3 separate regions of the Homo sapiens genome follow, and regions 2 and 3 are each linked to region 1. Evidence: promoter capture Hi-C in 16 types of primary human blood cells and fetal thymus (Javierre and others, 2016). All regions are on one chromosome and are shown on one strand. The core of a region is centred on a gene start or on the middle of the fragment in contact, and the rest is flanking DNA. Distances in the headings are between cores, read along the strand shown.

What was found. The method cuts DNA at HindIII sites, captures the fragments that hold promoters and counts their contacts. A CHiCAGO score of 5 or more calls a contact.
Region 2: a contact is called between a fragment that was not itself captured here and the fragment with the promoter of RBMS3-AS2 in region 1, in 1 of 17 cell types (endothelial precursors). The highest score is 5.2, in endothelial precursors.
Region 3: a contact is called between a fragment that was not itself captured here and the fragment with the promoter of RBMS3-AS2 in region 1, in 1 of 17 cell types (endothelial precursors). The highest score is 5.9, in endothelial precursors.

The regions. Positions count from the first base shown.
Region 1 is chr3:29,640,884-29,645,130 of GRCh38, reverse strand. RBMS3-AS2 (RBMS3 antisense RNA 2) reads left to right here and starts at 2,315. Exons shown (of 3, transcript NR_174948.1): 1 at 2,315-2,472; 2 at 3,984-4,037. All of the region lies in intron 4 of RBMS3 (RNA binding motif single stranded interacting protein 3), which reads right to left. The HindIII fragment of the contact is 8,371 bases long and covers 1-4,247 here.
Region 2 is chr3:29,141,375-29,145,621 of GRCh38, reverse strand. No RefSeq gene overlaps it. Among named protein-coding and RNA genes, the nearest start is that of RBMS3-AS3, 140 kb to the left of the region's middle. The HindIII fragment of the contact is 3,111 bases long and covers 504-3,614 here.
Region 3 is chr3:29,284,930-29,289,176 of GRCh38, reverse strand. All of the region lies in intron 1 of RBMS3 (RNA binding motif single stranded interacting protein 3), which reads right to left. Among named protein-coding and RNA genes, the nearest start is that of RBMS3, 6.0 kb to the right of the region's middle. The HindIII fragment of the contact is 1,090 bases long and covers 1,375-2,464 here.

The DNA.
Region 1 (4,247 bases), core at 1,066-3,565:
TGTATTGAGAAATAGCCTTGAGAAATGTAGGAACTGGTATTCTTTTTATTTGTGACAATGATACCCTAATAGATGCTGGAATCATTAAAAGTCTTTGCTATACCATTTTTATTCTCTCTTTTTGATTCTGTGAGAAGTGAACCATGGTTAAGCAATACTTCTACAGGGATTAGTGACTATGCCATTAATTTCTCATATATGTTGTTATATTTTCAGATGAAAGATGTTATGTAAGTTGATGTACTATTGACATATTTAAATGTAATTTTTATTGGGTAAACATTTTAATCAGTGACCTTAGTGGATTGAAGTACACATTCAGGTTCATGGAACCATCGATAAAAATGTCAGCCATGAACTACTCTTCGGCTATAATCCTACTTTCGCCTGTGCAATCAATACAATCAGAGTCAAACAATATAGTGCCTGCAATGAAAGACTAAAATTCATATACTATTATAATATATTGGATGACAGTTCAAAACTAGGGTTTGTTTGTAGTTTTACTGAACCTTTTAGGCAAAGTTCTATCAATAGCATTTGTGAGATCTAAACCTAGAATGAATGCAGACACGACATAATTAGAAACAGAACAAGAAGCACTGGAACCAGTCTACGTGTTCCATCTGAGACACGTTAGGCTCTAGGTCCACAGGCTTCAGACACGAGGCTCAAATATACTTATGATTCAGCAACAGTTCTTGTCTGTGCATGGAGGCACACCCAAACTATGCAGCCCCTAGTGGCATATACCTCCCACAATTACTGGAATAAAAGCATTGTTTAAGCCCACAAAAATTTCAGTTGAGAGGATGCAAATTGTGATTGAAACCCGTTCAAAATTGTAACACGACAATTTAACACAGGATTTCAAATTTCCTTTTTTTTATTTTTTTGGAGTGTTCCATCTAATGCGTTATGCTGTGATTGCTAGAGGCTATTTGGGAAGCCCATTTATCATGGATAACTTTGGGGAAAATTACTATATTGTAAACCTGTTAGTGACTAGAATTCCCCTCTATTAGATTCAAATGTTTGGATTCAGACTAACCAAGCTGTGATTATGAGAAGCTGGAGAAATGTTTGAAAGCTGGGGGTAGAAGCGGCATACTGCCACTGAAACCTCAATTTTGGAGTGTGAGAAACCAATGCACTCGAAAAACATTCTGCTTTACAGGACTAATATGAAATTATCCTAAACGGAGGTTTTCAGAGAAAGAAAATGGCAGGAAATTCATTAATGCTCCCACTCCCTGAATGTGTGTGTGTTTTCCTTTTTCCATGTTAAAATTGTGATTACAGAAATGAGACGAGATCAATATTACCTACAGCTTGACATTCAGAGACAACGACAGAACTAAATATCCATTAACTGTCTCTTTTCTCCGGCCTTTTCTCTAGAAACCTCCCTCAAATCACCCACATTGATAGAGAAATGACATGAAAAATGGCCCACAAACAACGGCGCTTTCCTTGAAGAAAACAACTTTCACGTTTTTCTCCCTTTTTTCCCTGCAGACTGTGTTACGCTCCTTAATTTGTCCCTGCACAAGAAATAAGCATATGGATCCGTGAATGTACCCTTCCTCCTCTGCTGCATTCTGAAAGGAAAGTCAGAAGCTCGTCAAACTTAGAACTTGAAGCTAAGCTAAGACACCCTCGGCAATGCAGGGGAAAAGTAGGAATGAGAACAAAATGAAAAATCCTGAAGAAACCACTCTGGGGGAAGAAGTCAACAAAGAAATTATACCACTATGAGGCTCATGAAGCCCGTGCAGGCCAAAAACCTTGTTCCTAAAAGCTCCCCATGTGTGGCTGCTAATGCACAGGAAATGTGATTAGCTGCCTGAGAAAGGCCTAGAATTACTCCCATTCTGACTAGATTACTGGATAATTAGATTGGTAGCGCTCTTCCCTGACTGTGGCTGTCAGATTAAATCTGGCTGGTTCTCTTTAGATAACTGTCATGCCCCAAAATAACAAACAGAGACTGACACAGCGAGGAGCCTTTTAAAAAGTGTTCCAAGAATCAAAGTGCCTATTTTTTCTTAATAATAAAACATGAACAATGTTCAATGGACTTGAGTTTATTCAAATTGTCATTATATTTGATTAAGAAAATGCTACCAGACAAAGCCTGGCCAGACAGGCTTAATCTCTGATGGTAAATGAACATCGCCAGGCTTGACTAGCCACCTCTGGGATCGACTGAGGGAAAGGCAGACTTGAATTACTCAGAGAATAAGCCAGTGGTTCTGTTTTAATGCTCTGAGTCAGCAGCCTTTTATAGCTCAAATCAAGGTCAACAAGATATGTAGAGCACCTTCTCTGAGCACTAGCTGGAACACGGCGGCTCTTCTTTCTTCCACTCTGAGACAAGAACACATGCGCTTTTCCTGTAAGTGTTGTCTCCCCAGTTATTCTGGAGACCATCCAGAAGAGAATGAGAATAAAGAAACCAACAGAAGAAAGGTACAAAGGGTCCCAGGTTCTTACCAAGTTCCCACAGTCTTGTTCTGCTGTCCCTAGTGACTAAATGTTTGCAGTGACTGGGGCAGTGTTTCCTCAGGTGTTATAGCCTGGCCTCTGGCAAGAGATGGGAAAGGGGATAGAAAGATGAAATGCTTTTTGGTGGTACACATGAAACCATACATTTTTACTTATTTTATTTTTATATGGCAAATATAACTGATTTTCTATTTATAATAGAGATACAAAGTTTCCTTTTTAAGGAAACTAACAACAAAGTGTTCAAAAATAAACATAGATGATCAATTTGTTTTAAGAAAAGGTTAACAGGCAGGTATGGCAAAATGCAAATATAACAAAGGTGGAAAGCTGAGAAACCTGGGTGTAAATAAGAGAAGACAGAGCAAAGCATCAGATCAGATGGTGAATCCCAGCATTTCCACTTAGAATTGCAAACTCTTGGGCTAGTTCATTCACTTCACCCAGGGTCAGAATCCACTCATTGGCAGATCTACGGGTTATAACCTTTCTGATCGCAGAAAGTTGTAAAATATCAGCAGTGAGCCTGCCACAGCGTGCATGTTCAGTAAGTGAAAGCAGTTATTGCTTTTAACAAGTGGAACTGGAGTTCTATGTATCTCTTCATAAAATGCCTAAGAAATGTCAGTTCTCTTTGGGTAGGACTTGCCAAATCTCCTCATTGTTTGGTTCCCTCTTTCTTGGGAGGACAGCTCTAAGAAGAATCCCTTGGCTTCAGATGTTTAATATGCATCTCCAAAGCCCCTAGAAGGACCAGGCAAATTTCACTGTGCCTCTGCTCTTCATGGACACCACTGACTTTAGCATAAGTGTCCTGGTCTTTACATCTCTCACCCTGTGCAGTGTGCCTGTCTTGAGTAGATGCTCAACAAATGTTACCTCAGTGAATATGACAATTAAAGAAGCAGTGCAGTATACATTTTTTAAATTCAAATGTTCATACAGTATACAAGAGAGAAAAAAACAAGTGGCCAAATCTTTTTCAAACTCAATAAAATAAGCTAAAAAATTAAAAGTCATTGCCATTTCTTTTTAAAGTGAATGTATCTATTGTTTAAAAAGTATTTGATATACTACTAAAAGTAATAATTGGCACAAACATTCTGGAAGGCAATTTAGCAGTACATTAAAACGTGTATGAAATATACATTTAAGATATACCATTTGATTCAGCAATTCTAACTTTAGAAATCGATTCTAAACCAATTATTATGAATATGTAGAGATATTTACTTATAAGGATGGTCAATGCAGCCTCTTTGAAATACTGGTGGTTTGGAAACAACCATTATGCTCAGCAATATATTTTTAAAATACAGTATGATACTGCTTTACAAATGGGAAAGCATGTGGCCACTGAAAATAATTTTTTTGAACAATATTTAGTAACAGGGAAAATGATTTAGTTTATACACAACTTATCAGATTAAAATACAATATGTATGAATAGATTCATTTTTGTAATTTGTCTTTAGATAAAGAAGGAAGAATAAAAGATACCAAAATGACAGTTATCGCTTGCTTCGGAGGTGAGACTATAGAGGATTTTTATGTCTTTCCTAGTTATTTTTCTTGAAGTTTCTATTATGAACAAATACATTTCATAGCTAATTTATTTTGTGCAATTGGCCAAGGACTATGCTAAGTTTGTTACATGTATTATCATGTAATTCTCACAAAAGCCCTATGAAGTAGGAAGAATCATTATCCCCATTTTTAAAGATGGGTAAACACAGCTG
Region 2 (4,247 bases), core at 810-3,309, 500 kb after region 1:
ACATAAAGTGAAAAGACAGGCAGATAGTAACACATGTCCTTTTTGTAAGATGCGGTTGAGTTTAGAGCTCCATCTGTTCCCAGACTTGAGAAGTCTGGGGTTTTCTCAAAACCACCACAAAAGATTTGTATGTTGTACCAACAGAATGTACATATTTTATAAGCATTGTCTGGGCCAAATAATCATTTAAAAATAAATCCCTATTCTCATAACCAAGAATATTTAAAACATTCAGTAAGAATGCTCCAGCCTTTAACAAAATACCATTAGACCCTCATATATTGTCACTATTTATCATTTGGGAAGCATCACTTTTCTTATAAAAAGAGGAAAAAGGTGATAGCCAGTTTTCCCAATCTGCAGGGGTATTGTCAGGACTTCACCCTTGAGAAAAGTGGATTTCTCTGTAGTTTCCTCACCAAAATTGTTTCAAGCTCTTTCTTGCAATTTTCTGCAAGAAAACACTGCAAAGCAAACATCAGTGATCTAACATCAGGCAAGCTTTCCTCCTTGATAATAAATACGTTAGTTTGGAACAGGCTCACAAAGAATCCAGACAGCTCCGATCTGGCCCTATTCCAGGAGAGAAGCGTCTGGTGTCGGGAAGAAACACTCAGCTGTCTTTCAGATGTGTACTTCTATCTACCCCTACTGTCTGCAGCTTGAAACAGAAGTGGTGGCTATTAAAGACCTGTCTTTTGGGCACTGGTGTAAAACATCTTTGCTAAATACTGTGGACAGTCAACTGAAAACATCCTGTATTTACTGGGAATTGATCTTTTGAAATGGTATGGTATATGTCAGGTTAGATACTAGAGAGTTAACAAGAATTACAGGCCGCTGTTTGTCAGGATTAACAGTCAGAATTATAGCATTAGTGTAGGCAATCCAGAGTTCCTTTTTGAATCAAATTTACATACTTTCCCCACGGGCTTCAGGGATGCCAGTCAGGTGCTGAGCTAGCAGCTTCTTTTGTATAAGTTGCATGTGCTAGGGCTTAGCCAAAAGCCCAAGCATGGGGCATTTGGCCAACTTCTCCACATATGCAGTACACCGACTTAGGAAGGAAGTAATAGTGTTTCTACCACAACACCTCACTTAATGCTTGATAAGAGGGAATGTGCTCATAACTTACTGCAAAGCACAAAGAAGATGATAAGAACAACATTTAGCAAGAGACTCTCAGCAGCTTTGCTTGTGCAGTTCCTAAAGACTGACTCAAATGTCACAAAAGGTTAAAAGAGACCGGGTTGCAAGGCAGAAGCAGTCCTTAGGTGTTGAGAGTGCACCAGAAGCCCCTAAGTCAGCAGGGTTCAGAAGAAGAAGTGGATATGGTGGCTGCCACGTAGGGCAAGCCTGGAACAAGGCAGCGGAATGTCATAAGCACCGGACCCAAGTCAGGGACCAACAGCCAGTGAGGAACCAAGACCTAGTTATGACAGAACAACAAAGATTAGCTGGGAGTCACTCAAGAAGTGGGGAAAACCAGAGTCAGTTTGAACCCAAGACTGGATTGATGGTGAAGTCAAAACAAGGTGGAAGGCAAGTAAAAAGCAAAGTTAGAAACAAAGCAAGGGGCGTCAAGCATGATTGAAACTCAGTTACCTCTGGATATCCAGAAATCCAATGCTAAAGCATTAATCACAAACTCAAATGACTGCAGCTCCAGGCTGGTGACCTGAAGGTAGGGATCTGGTGGCTAAGGGTATGACAAAGAGAGTTGTAGTGTGTAGGGCCAACCCTAGAGAGAGGGTTTTTCATTCCATTTTAAAAACATATCTCATATTATATTCTGGCAGCTGAATATATCCACCATCGCATGTTCTAAGATAGGCACTAGGTTAAGTAACGGAGGAGGACTAGTTCAGGAGGTCTGATGGAGTAGGGTTACCTGCCTTGAAGATCATGCCGAGGGAGGTTCTATAGAAAATAAAGCCATTGATTTATCAGCCAGGCATGTGATTGTAGAAAACGAGACACTTAAAACAAAATACAAATTTGCATAGATTCAATGTGCACCACAATTTATCCTCCAGCAATTTATCGAGTTCTACTTAATAGCTCTAAAAGCAGGAAAAACAAACTTTAAAGATAAACCATACAAACTTATTAAATATGCGTTAGCCCAGGAGGGTAGAAAGTTGTTAGAGAACTGGGGAATGTAAATGTAGACAACTGGAGGTGAAAATGGGGAAGGAAACAGCTAAGAAAACAATAATGTTAACAGAGGAAGTCAACTGTTGAGGCAATAGTCACATTACAGGTGAAATAGCAATATCTATGCCACAAAACTAAAAAAAATAGCAGGAAATCATGAAAATACAATGGGGCAGCAATCGAAATGAACATGAACATACATGGAGTAACCTGTTCTATGGGGAAGGCACCACTCTGTGGTTAGGTGCGGGGCTTCAATGACTAGATGCCCAGGTTGGACATTTGTAGTGTGTAGGGCCAACCCTAGAGAGATGGTTTCTCATTCCATTTTAAAAACATATCTGATATTATATTCTGGTAGCTGTATTTATCCACCATTGCATGTTCTAAGACAGGCAGCCTGCTAGGTGGCACTAGCTGGGTGACCTTAACCAAGTTAGTTAACCCCTGTATAGGTCATTTTTCTTCTCTGAAAAATGGGAACACTTATACAAATAAGGTTATCTTACAGGGCTGTTATGAAGAATGAAATTGTATTTGCAGAGCACTCAAACCCTGCTTGGCATACAGTCTTATGTAAGTTTAAATATAAATGTACTGGGTAATTTACAAATATTATTTTACTTAATCCTATCACATCTACAAGATTATTATTCTCAAATCACATTTGATAGATAAATTAAGGTTCAAATTATATCAGTAACTTTCTAAGGATCACAGAGCTGGGAGTTGGCAGGGCTGGATTAGGTGTCTCACCTTCTTATTGTATCACACTACCACCAGCTCCAGGGCATAAAAAATGTCACATTCTAGCAGCCCGCCTGGCAACTTTCTCCACATTGAGGTTTCTGTTTCCTAACAGTTTATTTTCTAGAATAGTTCTTACCTTTAGAAATTGACCAAACTCTTTACCAGGACTGTCAGAAATGGTTAAATTACATGCAACCATATTGGGAATTAGAAGATAGGAGGAGAAATAGATTTTCTCATGAATATGCAAATGAAATTTATCTATATATTTAAAACAGGCATTAAGAGAAAATGTGAGCCTCTGTCAGAGATAGAATGATGCTGGAAGTAAGTTTGTGGAATTCACTATCTTAACTATTGTGAAATAATTATACTGTCAACACATTGAAGTTTCTTATCTAAATGTGAGCAACTCCAAGCCATACATCAGAATAAAGGTCCAAAAAAAGAAGAAGAAAGTTATAGAAATATTTTTCCCCCAATAATTACTAGAGGCTAAGGTTCAGATTTGCTTTTGTAAAGGCAAACTGACTGCCCATAGCCCTAATATCACATCTGGAAATTCCAAGTTCCGGCGTGCAAGCATTATGGACAAGGCCTCTGGAAAAATCTCATGCCAGGGAGAATTGTGGATTCTCTGCCATCCATGCTGAGCTTGGAATGTTACTGTCCTATTAAAGTTTCCAAGCTCTTTTCCCTAAGAAGCTTTGTGGGCACCCTGAGCAGGCCTTGCCCAGAGCCTTAGGACTCAGAAATAAATCAGAAAGGGAGGATACCTAAAGAGGAAAGCTAGAAGTAAACATATGGTGAGAGAGAAAAGAGGAGAAACGTGACTGTATCAAGTTGTTTGAGACTAAGCTTGAAAAGGCTACTTAAAAACAGGAAGGAGAGGGAAGCAACAGAGAGAATAGAGGCAGATGGAAAATTTAAACAGAGCCAAGAGAAAGGAAGGCAAAAGAGGAAAATTATGAACTATGGAATTAGATTTCATGCAAGGGAGTCATCAGTGTGTGGACTATGGCACGTTTTCAGAAGAAATTCCCCACAGTTCCTCCTACTTCAAGACAGAAAGTAGTATAAAGCATGAAGGAAGAATAGAAAGGAAAAAAGGAAAGGGAAAGGCCTATGATGATACATTTGTTAATCCTTCTATACCCTTCACTCTTATTCCATTTACTTTAGGATTTATTCCCATCTACCCAGTATATAGAGAATAAACAAAAATACAGGAGACTTGTATATGCATCTTTTACTCAGAGTTCAAAGCAATCCACGAATAACTCAAATGTTTATCATGCCTCACTGTCTAAAGCAGGATGTAAATGGAAAAGCAAGTCCTG
Region 3 (4,247 bases), core at 670-3,169, 360 kb after region 1:
CCCATTTCACAAATGAATAAATGAACACACAGACTGATATGAACAGAAACCAACTTTCCCAAAGGATTATCTTCCTTGTTTTATACTCCAAATATACTCAGAGAAGCAAGCATAATAGGAACTTATGGACTAAGTTATATGAAAATAATGTATGATTTTTCAAAGCTTAAATAATAATTTAAAATAGCATATGTCATTTGCTTTCATTAATTCAGCTAACAGGGGCTTTTTGAAAAACAAGAAGGGAATCTCAAAAGAAAAAGTAGAAAAGATAATGTTCTTGTTTATATGCCCTTGGGGAGTTATTTCCCTCCTACAATACTACAGTATAGCTGAGGTAACCACAGTATTCAGTTCCCACGTTTTCTAGGCTACTATTCTGAGATTCAGAGATTGTAGGTTTTGCGGATTTGTAGGTTTTGGATTCAGTCGAAATAATATTTCATTAATTGTTATAGTTACACTGACTCCTTATAATCATTCATGAAACTAAAGTTGTCAGTATTTTAATGTGGCAATTCTAGTCTCCTTCATTAACTCAACTGGTTTAGCCAAACATGCATAACCATTTAGCTCTGCACCACCTGTAGAGAGGAAGTTAAATGAGGAAAAGTAAAGCATCATACTATCACAATTAAGTTTTTGGATACACCTTAATTTTACCCACTCAGAAGAAAAATTGTAACCACCACAATAAAGCTGGAAAAGGTCATGATTAAAGAATGGCTGTCATTTTGTTCCACTCCTGGGAACTTCTATCCACCCACTCCCAAGTGATGGACGTGTTTCTCTCAGTGCACTGGATTTAGATGTGTGAAAGGATGAAGACAGTTAAATTTTTCAAATCACCAGAGAGCCAGTAAAGCAGCATTTGATCTGCCCTGTGGAAAGCATCTGGGAACAAAAGAAAAACTCATGAATGACACAAAACCGAGGTCACCTGAAGATACCACTAAGATACTAAAGCAGGCTCAGCTATCTCACAATGGAAGGGATCCTAGTGAAGGAACCCAACCTAGAAACCAATGCATTGACATACAAATCAGAGAATTCCCCCACAAAATGATAGGATCTATTATCTTTCTTTTATTATCCTTACTTTTGAAATTTGATATTTATTAGGAATTGGTTTTGAATTATTAAAATTTTATTCGTGATTCCACATAATACATACTCCCTGAGTAATAAACCTACATGGATAAAACAAAACATTTTTAATAAGACCAGATTATCTGCCAATATCAACTTAAAATAAAAAAAAATAAAAACAAAACCAAGCAAAATTTAACTCATCTCAGTCTGCCACTCTCTTTTTCTTTTTAAAATTACTTCTGTCTAAAATCTGAAATCTAAAAATAGCCAATTCTATAAGCTTTCTCAAGGCCCTGAAAACAATCACATATGAATGGTAGTGATGATTAGTATGATTAATCCTATAGATTTATTATCTCTAGGAAGCTAGAGGTTATTAATTTTTATTAACAAATATTATTTCAAAAACACTGTATTAAATCACCTCATTAAAACTAGACACCTCTTTACGATAACATCTCTGTTACAGAAATGGAAGCAAAAGTTGTATGTCCTTGTGTATCTTTGTAATTTTTAACACTGGTAAGAAAAGAGCAATATTTATACAACACTGAAGAGCATCATATTTCCAAATATCTTTAAAAAGCAATATACTGCCACCTATTTTGCCATCTGTAAGTTGCTGATTCTTATTGCCTAATACTTTTCTTTAGGTATCAATGGGATGAAGGTTTTCTTACAATAGTTCCATAAATTAAAGTAGTAAAAAAAAATTTATAATTTCAAAACAGAAATGAGAAAGTCACTTTTGCTTTTTGAATGTGTACTCAATGGGAATAATTTTCATTCTTCCACTTGAATTGGTTTCAGATCTATTCAGCACCTATGTGTTTTCTAATTAAATGGCATGATCCACTCCACATTTTAAAAATGGTATTATATGTCTGTTTCCGTTTTCCGAGAGGATATTTTCTAAGCACATCCAAAATAGTTCAACATTTTCCCACTACTGCAAAAAATAGCAACACATATCCTCAACACACGTATTACACCACATGAATACATTTTCGCTTTTGGTCTCCCTTCAGTTCCATCTGCACTCTTGCTGTGCAATAGCTATAGCATAAAAACGTCTATTCTCACATGCTTTTGATATTACACTATTTAATCACATACAGCTGTGGCTTATGAGACTGTTACAAAACAATTTCAATGTAGTACTTGAAGCCAATTTTGAATAAACATCAACCATTTACTCTGAATAAAATGTTTGACATTAAAAAAGTTTTATTTTAAAAGAAAATACTTTTTTTGTTGTTTTGGTTTGATTTTAGAATTTGACATGGGCATAATTGTGACTGAACTCTCTCTGCCAAAAGACTGATAATGTCAAAAAGGTTGTGTAAAATCATACTAGTGCAAAAATGAAGCTTTCCAGAATTCCTGAAGCCAGAAAGACCTAGAATGAACTTGCATCCTCCCTTCTATATTGTGTCCCTCCCTGCAAATTATCCCTACCCCCAGCCCTCAGATACATTTTATTACTTCATGGAAATAATTTTGTGCTATAATTTTGTGCTATTTTTTTTCCAAATTGAAAGAAAGTGAAAGGAAAATGCTTTAGAAAGATGCTGTTAAATATACATGATATTTTCCTTAAGTTTGAATCCATTCTGGAGAAAAGAAAATACCATGAACTTTTTACGTTTCTACTCCTTTTAAGTAGGCACCAAACTCAGTGTTGCAAAAACAATGTCTATATCATGGAAAAAAAATAGCAAAACATGCACTGGGATTGTGTTCAATCCCACTGATAATGAAGGCTTGGGGGAGTTAAGAAAAAAAAACAAAACTAAGAAACAAGGATGGCCCCTTCCTTCTATTTTCCTCTTATTTGAAACCAATTAAAAATTCTATACAGTCTAAAGTGAGACAAACAGGATTTATCATAGTTTCATGCTATCATAGTTTCATGCTATTATATTACCCCCCGAAGCGAAAGAAAATATTTGGAGTTGTACCTAAAAATTCTATCGCTGGAAGATTTTAGAAAACTAGTTTTGTATGTTTCAGGCTTTCAAAGGAAAACAGAACTTTGGAGTTTTCAAGGCTGTTTTAAAACAACTGGCAAGTTACCAACTGGATATCAATGCAAATCTGAGGCAGGAAGTACTAAGGAAATTCTAAACTCATTCCCTCCCTCTGCAAGATTTTCTACATTTTCATGTGTAAGGAGGGTGTTACAGGGTTGTTTTGTTTTGCTTTTGAAGGATCTGTACATTCACATCTTTAAGAATATCCTTTGCTCCGTGGAAGCCTCTCTTCCTTCACCTACTTGTGTTTTCAAGCGTTTGCTCATTCTATGGCACAATCAATTGTGCTTCAGCTAGACTTTTAGAGACGGGTGGCTGCAGATGGTTGAATATTCAGCCTGAAATCAACGTGCAGTTGATTAACTACTTCTTACACCTGGCCCCTTCTTCATACCAGGCTCTGAACACAATCTGAGTATCACCAGCCAAGAAATTCTGTTTGGGTCCACTAGTCTGAACCTCTTTCTTCAAGACCTTCTGGGGAACCAGAAGGGAATGCAGTAAATTCATGTGAGAGCAACATCATTGGCAACTGGGCACTGGATTGGTAGAAACATAGTGAACTGGTAAGGGTGTGGAAAAGGAAGAAAGGAGAAACTTGCTGTGTGTGCTTAGGTAACTTTTTAAGTTTTATGAAGATGACTAAAGTTTTCCAAATATATGTGAGAGAAATATCTATTTCTCGGCTGGAAAAAAATCAATTCACCGGGCTGTAACCAGGTTTTCTTCTTTTTAGCTTACCTAGCTTGACTAATTTTTTTTCAAGAACCCCCCATCCACCCCCACCTACTCCCCACCACCACCCCCACCCCCACCCCACCCCGGCAAGTACCTCAAAAATTCAGAATGAAATTCAGCTGGGATCTCATAAGTCAACAGCAACAGGTTGTTTTTTTTTTGGAAAGGGTGATAAAATACTTAAAAAATGTTGGATTACAACTAATCAAACATTTTGTATTTTGTCATTAAGCTAATGAACTATTTTTTGAGCCCTTTTTCTCTAAAACTTGCTGATTATTCTGGGTGTCCCTTCCAAACAGCAAATTTGCCTTGATAAACTATTTTTTCATCCGGTTGTTTCTTATTTAAATATTACAACATATCACTAAGATTTCTTCATTA